Linked DNA regions of Homo sapiens: all the other regions are linked to region 3. The links are contacts of gene promoters, found by promoter capture Hi-C in blood cells and fetal thymus (Javierre and others, 2016). All regions are on one chromosome and are shown on one strand. The core of a region is centred on a gene start or on the middle of the fragment in contact, and the rest is flanking DNA. Distances in the headings are between cores, read along the strand shown.

Region 1 (2,700 bases), core at 15-2,514, 290 kb after region 3:
GGACCTCACTTGTGTTTGGGACTGACTGGACTCTAGAACCCAGCCTGCTACCTGGATTAGACTGGAAGCCTCAAGGATGACCTGTGTATTAGGTCTGAATAAACTTCATGTCAAGCTTAGGCTATGTTTGGGAGAGACTGGGCTTCAGGGAAGTGCCCGCCTGTTTATTTGTTTCAGACTGGGTGTTGTTCAGACAGGGCAGGTTGTGGTCTGTATGACTTGCTCTATAAGACTACCTTAGTGAAGCCCCATACATCCAGATATTAGTTGGGACTTCCTCAGGAGTTGGGAGGAGGACAGAGAAAATAAACCAAGAAGGATAAATAGGTAAATGCAATTTTATTACTGGGGGTGAAAACAAAGAGCATTCTAAGAATTTAACAAGCAACAGTTGACCAACAGGGAACCTGCTGTTGAGCCCGTAATCTGCTGAGGAAATTTGAGCCTGTCCCTGAGTACTGCCTGCTTATCTCTTCTCAGAGATCATAGCCCCAACTTTCGAAGGTAGTAAAGTCCCTCACCCTGGCGGTTTCCAGTCTCATGTTCTGCAGCCTCTTTGGCTTCTCCCCAGCCTTCTGGGCTGTTTCCTTTTCACAGAGCATCTTTTCTACATGTTGCTGGATCTCCCTAGTCCTCACCCCATAAATGACAGGATTCAAGGCTCCTGGAAGCAGCAAGTATATGGCACTGAGTAGATTCTGGACATTCTGGGACACAGTCTTGGCTACTCAGAAGGTGATGGAAGTGGAAAGACCAGAGACGTAGATGGAGAGGATGACCAGTAGGTGGGAGCCACACGTGTGTAAGGCCTTGGCTTGGGCTCCCCAAGAAGAGATCCGGAAGGCAGCATAGATGATGTGGGTGTAGGAGGTCCCCAGCAGGGCCATATCAGAGATTACAGTGACCAAACACATAGCCAGCCCCAGCCAGTTGTTGAAGGTCAGGTCTCCACAAGCTATGCTCAGCAGTGCAATGCACTCACAGGTGAAGTGTCGAATCACTGCTGTCCGGCAGAATCGGGCTTTTGCAGTTAGTACTACCAAGGGCACTGTCACTCCCAGGCTCTGTGTCAAGGCAAGAATGGCCAGCAGTCCCAGCAGCTGGGAGGTCATCAGGTCAGAATAGCAGAGTGGGTGGCAGATGGCTACGTAGCAGTCCAGGGCCATGGCCAGAGGAAGTTGTAGTCCAGGAGGAGGGTGAAGTAGATAAAGAACACCTAGGCCAGGCGGCCATGCAGCGATATGGGGTTAGCATAATATACAAAGCCCTCCAGCATTTTAGGCATCACGGCTGTGGCAGCACGAATATTGACAGCCAGGAGCACAGTGATGAGCATACACGTAGGCTGATGCAGATTTTGCCGGGCAACCACTGTGTGGATGACCAGGGCATTGGCAGAGATGATGGTCACAAAGAGGAAGACAAGAGGCAGGACCAGAAGGGGCCACCACTCTCGAAGTCCAGGGAAACCCACCAGGAAGAACTTGGTGCAGGAGATGTTGAAGGTGCTTGTATTTCCATCCTCACCCATTAGCTTTGGCCCTGGGCCGGCACCAAGAGTGGGGATCAGAGACTGTTAGAACAAAATGGTCAATTTTAAAAAGACTTTTTCTGTTGTAGACACTGAGGAATTTGTGATAAAAGCCTACTTCTTCATGTATGTATTCCTTTGGGGCACAGATAAGTACTAAGCCGGGTGTTGTAGGAACTACACAGTTACCTACAATCTTTGTAGGTAACAATCTTTGTCCTCAGGGAGCTCTTGGCCTCATGTGTGTGAAATGTAAATGTAAACTTACAAGATACTTGTTTACTTGTAATGTTCCAGATATTTGCTCAGTAAAAGATTAGGAGGAGAAGTAGGTGTAGTATACACAGGGGAAAAAGAGTGACAGCCAGAGACAAAACAAGAAAGGTTAAAAGAAGACTCTTGATTCAGAGGAAGAGAAAGTATTAGAAGAATCTTTGATCCAAGGAGTCTGGGAAGGCCCAAGTGGGGCTTAACAGGGAGAGAAGAACCAGCCGGGAATGATGGCATCACTTGTGTGCTTGGGACACACTGTGGCAAGGAGAGATGGAAGTTGCTGAGGAAGAATTCTGGTCTTCCTGGATCACAAGAAACAGGCTGCAGAGACTGCTTCCTTCCTAAGTCCTCGTAGATTGGCTGTGGTGCCTGCTGCCTGGCCTTGTCCTCAGTGTCATGGATGATGAGTTTGCTTTCCTTTCAGAATGTAGGTTCCAGGAGGGCAGGGATAATAGCATGCTTCTGGTGGGCTCACTGGAGCTCCAAGCACAGAGTCACCATAGAGGCGCAGGACAGGCTTGAGAATTGCTTGTTGAGTAGGTGCATGAGGAACAGGAAGAAGACAATAGGAGGCTGAACATTTAATTGGGATCTTACAGCAGTTGTTTCAAAGCTTTGGCCAGGGGCCAGGACTGTTCTACATACCTGATACTCCACAAACTAGGCAGCATTCAACAGTCTTCAAGCTTTTTTTTTTTTTTTTTTTAAGAGGTAGGGTCTTGCTATTTTGCCCAGGCTGTTTTTGAACTCCTGGACTCAAGCAGCCCTCTTGCCTCAGCCTCCCAGGCATGAGCCACTGCGCCTGGTCACTTCAAGCATTCTGAATCTCAGCAGCAATATGAAGAGTTAGCATTTATTCAGTACTTGCTACCTGCCAGACATGGTTCCAAGTGTTT
Region 2 (2,700 bases), core at 77-2,576, 270 kb after region 3:
ATTATATTATAGAGGCTAGAGTGACATTTTTAAAATAAAAATCAGATAATGTCATTTGTCTGCACAAAACTACTCTTTGGCTTGCTAACCCATGCAGAATTCCTTTTTTTTCGGGGGGCGTCAAGATTTCACTCTGTTGCCCAAGCTGGGCTGTGGCTCACTGCAACCTCAACAGAGTTCTTTCTTTTTGCAAATTGAGCTATAATTCACTCTTTTTAAAATGTACAATTCAGTGTTTTTTTTCTTTTCTTTTCTTTTCTTTTTTTTAGTATATCTGCAAGTCTGTGCAACCATTACCACTATCTAATTGTAGTATTTATTTATTTTATTTTTTTTTTTTTGAGACAGAGTCTTGCTCTGTCACCAGGCTGGAGTGTAGTGGCTCGATCTCGGCTCACTGCAACCTCCGCCTCCTGGATTCAAGCGATTCTCCTGCCTCAGCCTCCCGAGTAGCTGGGACTACAGGCGCGTGCCACCACACCCAGCTAATTTTTGTATTTTTAGTAGGGACGAGGTTTCACTATGTTGGCCAGGATGGTCTCAATCTCTTGACCTCGTGATCCGCCCACCTCAGCCTCCCAAAGTGTTGGGATTACAGGCGTGAGCCACCGTGACCGGCCTGTAGTACATTTTTATCACTGTAGATAATGAAACCCTTTATCCATTAGCAGTCACTCCCTGTTCCCTTCTTCCCTCAGCCCTTGACAACCACTAATATATTTTCTGTCTCTAGATTTGTGGACATTGTGGACATTCCATAGGAATGGAGTCATATAATATGTGGCCTTTTGTGTCAGGCTTCTTTCACTTAACATGTTCTTTTATTCATGTTGTAGCATGTATCAGTACTTCATTCCTTTCCATCCAGAGTTCTTACAGTGCCCTACAAGGTCCTACACAACTGGATAACCCACCTCATCTGCGGTTACTTTCCCCTTTGTTCACTTTGCTCCAACCCTATTAATTTTCTTGCTTTTTCTCAAACATGTCAACCATGCTCCTACCTCAGGATTTTTGCTCCTTCTTCCCTCTTGAATGTTAAAATGCACCCCCTCTTCCCATAGCCACATGATTTGCTTTCTAACCTGTTCAGTTCTTTGTTCATATGTAACATTTTCAATGAGGTCCTTCTTGACAATTCTGTTTAAAAATTATACCCCCTTCATCTTTATCCCCAGTACTCTCTGTCTTCTTTTCCTGCCTATTTTTCTTCCTGGCATTTATTAGACTTCTGTGATTCAAGCTATATTTAAAAAAATGGGTATTTGGCAACATGTGTAGAATGGAGTAGATGTGAAGGGCATCAAGAGTTCAACTGGGAAACTTTCAGTAGTCCATGTGAGAGAAGTTAAGACTTTGGCTTGGGATAGTCATAATCAAAATGGAAAAGAAAGTGTATTCATTCAACATTATCAAGACTTACTGTGTGCCAGATGTGTTGCTAGTGCTAAACATATAAATATAAATAAGATGATCCTTGTGTGAAGAAGCTCACTGCCTCGTGTAGTGGAGAAATCACTGGAAGAGCTTTTTCAGAAATCACAAATTGAGATCCATTGTTGCTAAGGGCTTGTCAGAATATCAGTGAAGGTGAGGTGGACGTGTGTGTTTTGAAGAACTCTGCAGTGATGGAAATGTTCTGTATCTGATGGCTATTGAGCACTTGAAATATGACTAGTGCAACTGAGAAACTCAAATTTTATTTCATTTTAAATAGATATATGTAGCCAGTGGCTACCATATTGCAGGGCACTCATCTACTGAATAATGAGATAGGTATATGTAAAAAGCTAATTATAACATAGTGTGATATATGTCTGGTAATAGAGCTGTGTACTGTGGAACATAGGGTTCTCTCTCTCTCTTACCTATTTTGCTGATGCATGTTATAACTAACACATATGACTAGGTATTGAAGAAATAGAATCAGTGGGATTTAGAAATGGACTGATGAATGATGAAGAGGGAGAAGTCAAATATAAAAATTTAAAATTTTAATGTCTGAGTATTAGAGGCTCACATGGTGGTGTAATTGACACAGGAAGTAGAAATAAAAATTGTGTGATTCTTGACCTGTTTTTTGCATTCCAGGTTGCTGTTTGTAATTTGGCTTCCCTGGCCCTGAATATGTATGTCACATCAGAACACACATACGACTTTAAGAAGTTGGCTGAAGTCACTAAAGTCGTTGTCCGAAACTTGAATAAAATTATTGATATAAACTACTATCCTGTACCAGAGGTATGAATAGATTTCTCTGCTTATTGGTAATTATTGAAATCCAAATTGAAAGGAATCAATCATGATCTTCAAGTCATCATTTAAATGGTTATCAATAAAATGGTTTGAGAAAAAGAGGTAGTCTGTCTCATTTGGTACAGAATGTTGCTTTTCCTGTTCAGTAATGTTTTCTCCTTTTCTTTAAAATCTGTTGACACAAAGGCATGCCTATCAAATAAACGCCATCGCCCCATTGGAATTGGGGTACAAGGTCTGGCAGATGCTTTTATCCTGATGAGATACCCTTTTGAGAGTGCAGAAGCCCAGTTACTGAATAAGCAGATCTTTGAAACTATTTATTATGGTGCTCTGGAAGCCAGCTGTGACCTTGCCAAGGAGCAGGGCCCATACGAAACCTATGAGGGCTCTCCAGTTAGCAAAGGAGTAAGTATATGGATGGAATTGTTTTTGCCTGTGAGT
Region 3 (2,700 bases), core at 87-2,586:
TACATTAGCCATGTATTTTTATATCAACGGCCTAACCCTTAAGCCAGGCAGCTGTTGGGCAAATTCGTGTTCCCAGTCTTCAGGGGCCTTGCTCAGAACAGGTAGCTGGTTTAGCACTGTCAGTCAGAGGAGGGACTGGGCCTGATCCTTTCCCCTGCGTCTGGTGCCAAGGACAGGGTAGGGCACAGAGGTTTCAGTCAAGATCTGCTGACAGCACGCTTGAGAAGAGAACAGGAAGTGCAGGCTTTGTTGAAGGAGGCTCAGGCGTGGCTCTGTCTTCTTTGGCGCACTCATTCTCAAGTCGCTGACACCTCCTCCACCAGAGAGGTAGCTGGGAGAATGAGATGCAGGGAGGAAGCATTTACAGGCCCCACCGAAAAACCTTAAAGGGCTGAGAGCTTGAGGGCAGGTAGGAAAAAGGGCTGTGAGAGCTAAGGGAGGGCATCCCACTTAGCTTGGAGGGGAAGGGAGGCGGGGTCGGGAAAGCAGATGGCACCCTTTAGCCCAGACTCAAGGAATGTGTAGGGGAATTTTAGCTAGAGTGGTTTGGACATTTCATTTTGCTTTCTGGCATCATCATTTCCTCAGAAAACACTCGCAGGCCCCAGTGGCCCTCGTGGGCCTCCCCCGGGGCGGGTCTTAGCTTCACTCGGCAACCCTCTGCAAAAGAGCAGGCCCTCCCAGGAGCGCCGAGTCCTGTCTGCAGTTTGCTGATTTTCCCACCAGGGGCCGCTGCGCATGGGCGACGAAGCGCGCGGGTTCCCAAGCCGCAGAGAGGCGGAAGCCGATTGGTTGTCAGGCGAGGCGCGAGGGCGGAGCCTGGGAACTGGCCGGGAGTTGGGGGCTGGGAGCTCGCCCCCGGGCCGAGCCGGGTCAGGCTGTTGTCGCCTCAGGCAGCTCCTGGGAGGCTAACGTCGTGTCCTGGGCCTCTGTTTAGACAGCTCTAGAACTGAGGCGAGTGGAGCAGCACCAAGGCCCGGAGATCGGGGCAGGGCAGCTGCTGTCGCCGCCGCCGCAGGCCTGAGTTACCTGAGTAACTGCGGGTCAGGGACCCGCCCGACGGCCCGCGGTTGGCGCTGGAGACTCTCGGTGGGGAAAGGGAAGCTGGGACTTGATCCTTTGCGCGGGATCCTGGCAAAGACTAGCGCGGGCCGGGGGTCCGGGAGAGCCCGCTAGGGGCGGGGATTCCGGGGAGCCGTCTTCACCGGTTATTCCGGGATCCAGCTGGGCGCTGGGGCTGGCCCGGGCTTCGCTGGGGACCGGGCGGCGCGGGGCGGGCGCGGAGACGCACGCCCCCGCCCGCCCCGGGCCCGCCCCGCGCCGCCCGCCCGCCTGGAAGCCGCTGTCCTGGGCCTGGCCGGTGTGCGTCCGCCTGCTGGACCTGGGCACCGCCAGCCGCCTGGGCACGGGACTGGGCGGGGGCGCTGACCTCGGCCTAGGAGGCCCAGGATCCCGGAGACGCCCGCGCCCTCAGGACCCTGCGGGTCGCACGCCCTCCCCAGCTTCTGCTGCTCGCCGCTCTTCGGCAGGGCGAGGTCAGGTGCCCCCTTCTCGCCTCTCTTCTCTTCTCTTCTCTTCCTCCTCCACTTCTGTGCCCGCGGAGACTCCGGCCGCCCCCTTCCGCAGGGGTGTAGTAATCTGCGGAGCTGACAGCAGCCCCGCAGCCACCCTGCCCGAAGTCTCCGGAAGCGGCACGAGCTCAGGCCGCCGCAGCCCCGGCGGACCCACTGTTGGACCTGAGGAGCCAGCCCTCCTCCCGCACCCAAACTTGGAGCACTTGACCTTTGGCTGTTGGAGGGGGCAGGCTCGCGGGTGGCTGGACAGCTGCGGAGCCGCGAGGGCATCTTGCCTGGAGACCGTCGGCTGCACTCCCGGGCTCCTGGCTTTGCCTCTGGGATCCCGAGGTGTCCACATCAGACGCATGTTGACTGAGACCTAGAGTCATGGATGTATGCGTCCGTCTTGCCCTGTGGCTCCTCTGGGGACTCCTCCTGCACCAGGGCCAGAGCCTCAGCCATAGTCACAGTGAGAAGGCGACAGGAACCAGCTCGGGGGCCAACTCTGAGGAGTCCACTGCAGCAGGTAAGGCCTTGCTGCGGGCTGGACTGGGCTGGAGGCTTTGGCTCAGGACTGAGTGGCCCGAAGTGGGCAAGTTGAAATCTAGGTTTGTACATGTGAGGTTCATGGAGGATTCACACATGGCACTGCCTGTTCCAAGTAGTTCAAGAAGTTCTTTCTGGTCAGTAGTCATGGCAAATGCCTGTATCTTTCCTGAACAACTTTCCTCATCCCCCGCACTCAGGATTTTTTTTGTTGGCAGTAAGAAGAAGCCTTTGGGGCAACTTGACCTTTTAGATCAGCAAGGAAAGACCCCATCTTAGGCCTACTTGTCTGGAAGAATGGCCTGGTGAGATGATAAGTTCATTGCTCCTATTCGGTTTTAGTACTGAGCAGCATGGGGGAGGTTGGGGCCACTTATGTTGGAAAGGGAAAGTTAAGGCTGGGCCACCTCTGTTGCCTGAAAGCCTGGTGTTCAGGTGTGCCTATTCCAACAACCGTGGGAACCCTAGTCCCACCCTTCCCTTAGGTAGTCTTGTCTCTTTGCTGTGCGCATTTGAAATATCCAGGCGGTTTCTTAGATGGAATCCTATTTACAACTAGGGTGTTAAATGGCCTTTTCTTGACATAGACATGATATAA

The links. The method cuts DNA at HindIII sites, captures the fragments that hold promoters and counts their contacts. A CHiCAGO score of 5 or more calls a contact.
Region 1: a contact is called between a fragment that was not itself captured here and the fragment with the promoter of STIM1 in region 3, in 1 of 17 cell types (total CD4 T cells). The highest score is 5.0, in total CD4 T cells.
Region 2: a contact is called between a fragment that was not itself captured here and the fragment with the promoter of STIM1 in region 3, in 1 of 17 cell types (non-activated CD4 T cells). The highest score is 5.7, in non-activated CD4 T cells.

Annotation. Positions count from the first base shown.
Region 1 is chr11:4,145,765-4,148,464 of GRCh38, forward strand. It overlaps the pseudogene OR55B1P. Among named protein-coding and RNA genes, the nearest start is that of LINC02749, 40 kb to the right of the region's middle. The HindIII fragment of the contact is 2,302 bases long and covers 114-2,415 here.
Region 2 is chr11:4,124,593-4,127,292 of GRCh38, forward strand. RRM1 (ribonucleotide reductase catalytic subunit M1) reads left to right here. Exons shown (of 19, transcript NM_001033.5): 13 at 2,092-2,241; 14 at 2,443-2,664. Among named protein-coding and RNA genes, the nearest start is that of RRM1, 31 kb to the left of the region's middle. The HindIII fragment of the contact is 4,129 bases long and covers 1-2,700 here.
Region 3 is chr11:3,854,328-3,857,027 of GRCh38, forward strand. It overlaps STIM1 (stromal interaction molecule 1), which reads left to right and starts at 1,337. Exons shown (of 13, transcript NM_001382567.1): 1 at 1,337-2,082. The coding sequence starts at 1,944. It overlaps STIM1-AS1 (STIM1 antisense RNA 1), which reads right to left and starts at 1,251. Exons shown (of 2, transcript NR_183662.1): 1 at 1,030-1,251; 2 at 1-331. MIR4687 (microRNA 4687) reads left to right here and starts at 1,735; the gene lies at 1,735-1,814. RefSeq lists enhancers at 313-382, 592-1,537, 1,753-1,962, 2,113-2,192, 2,203-2,252 and silencers at 723-772, 1,253-1,312, 1,373-1,532. The HindIII fragment of the contact is 6,805 bases long and covers 1-2,700 here.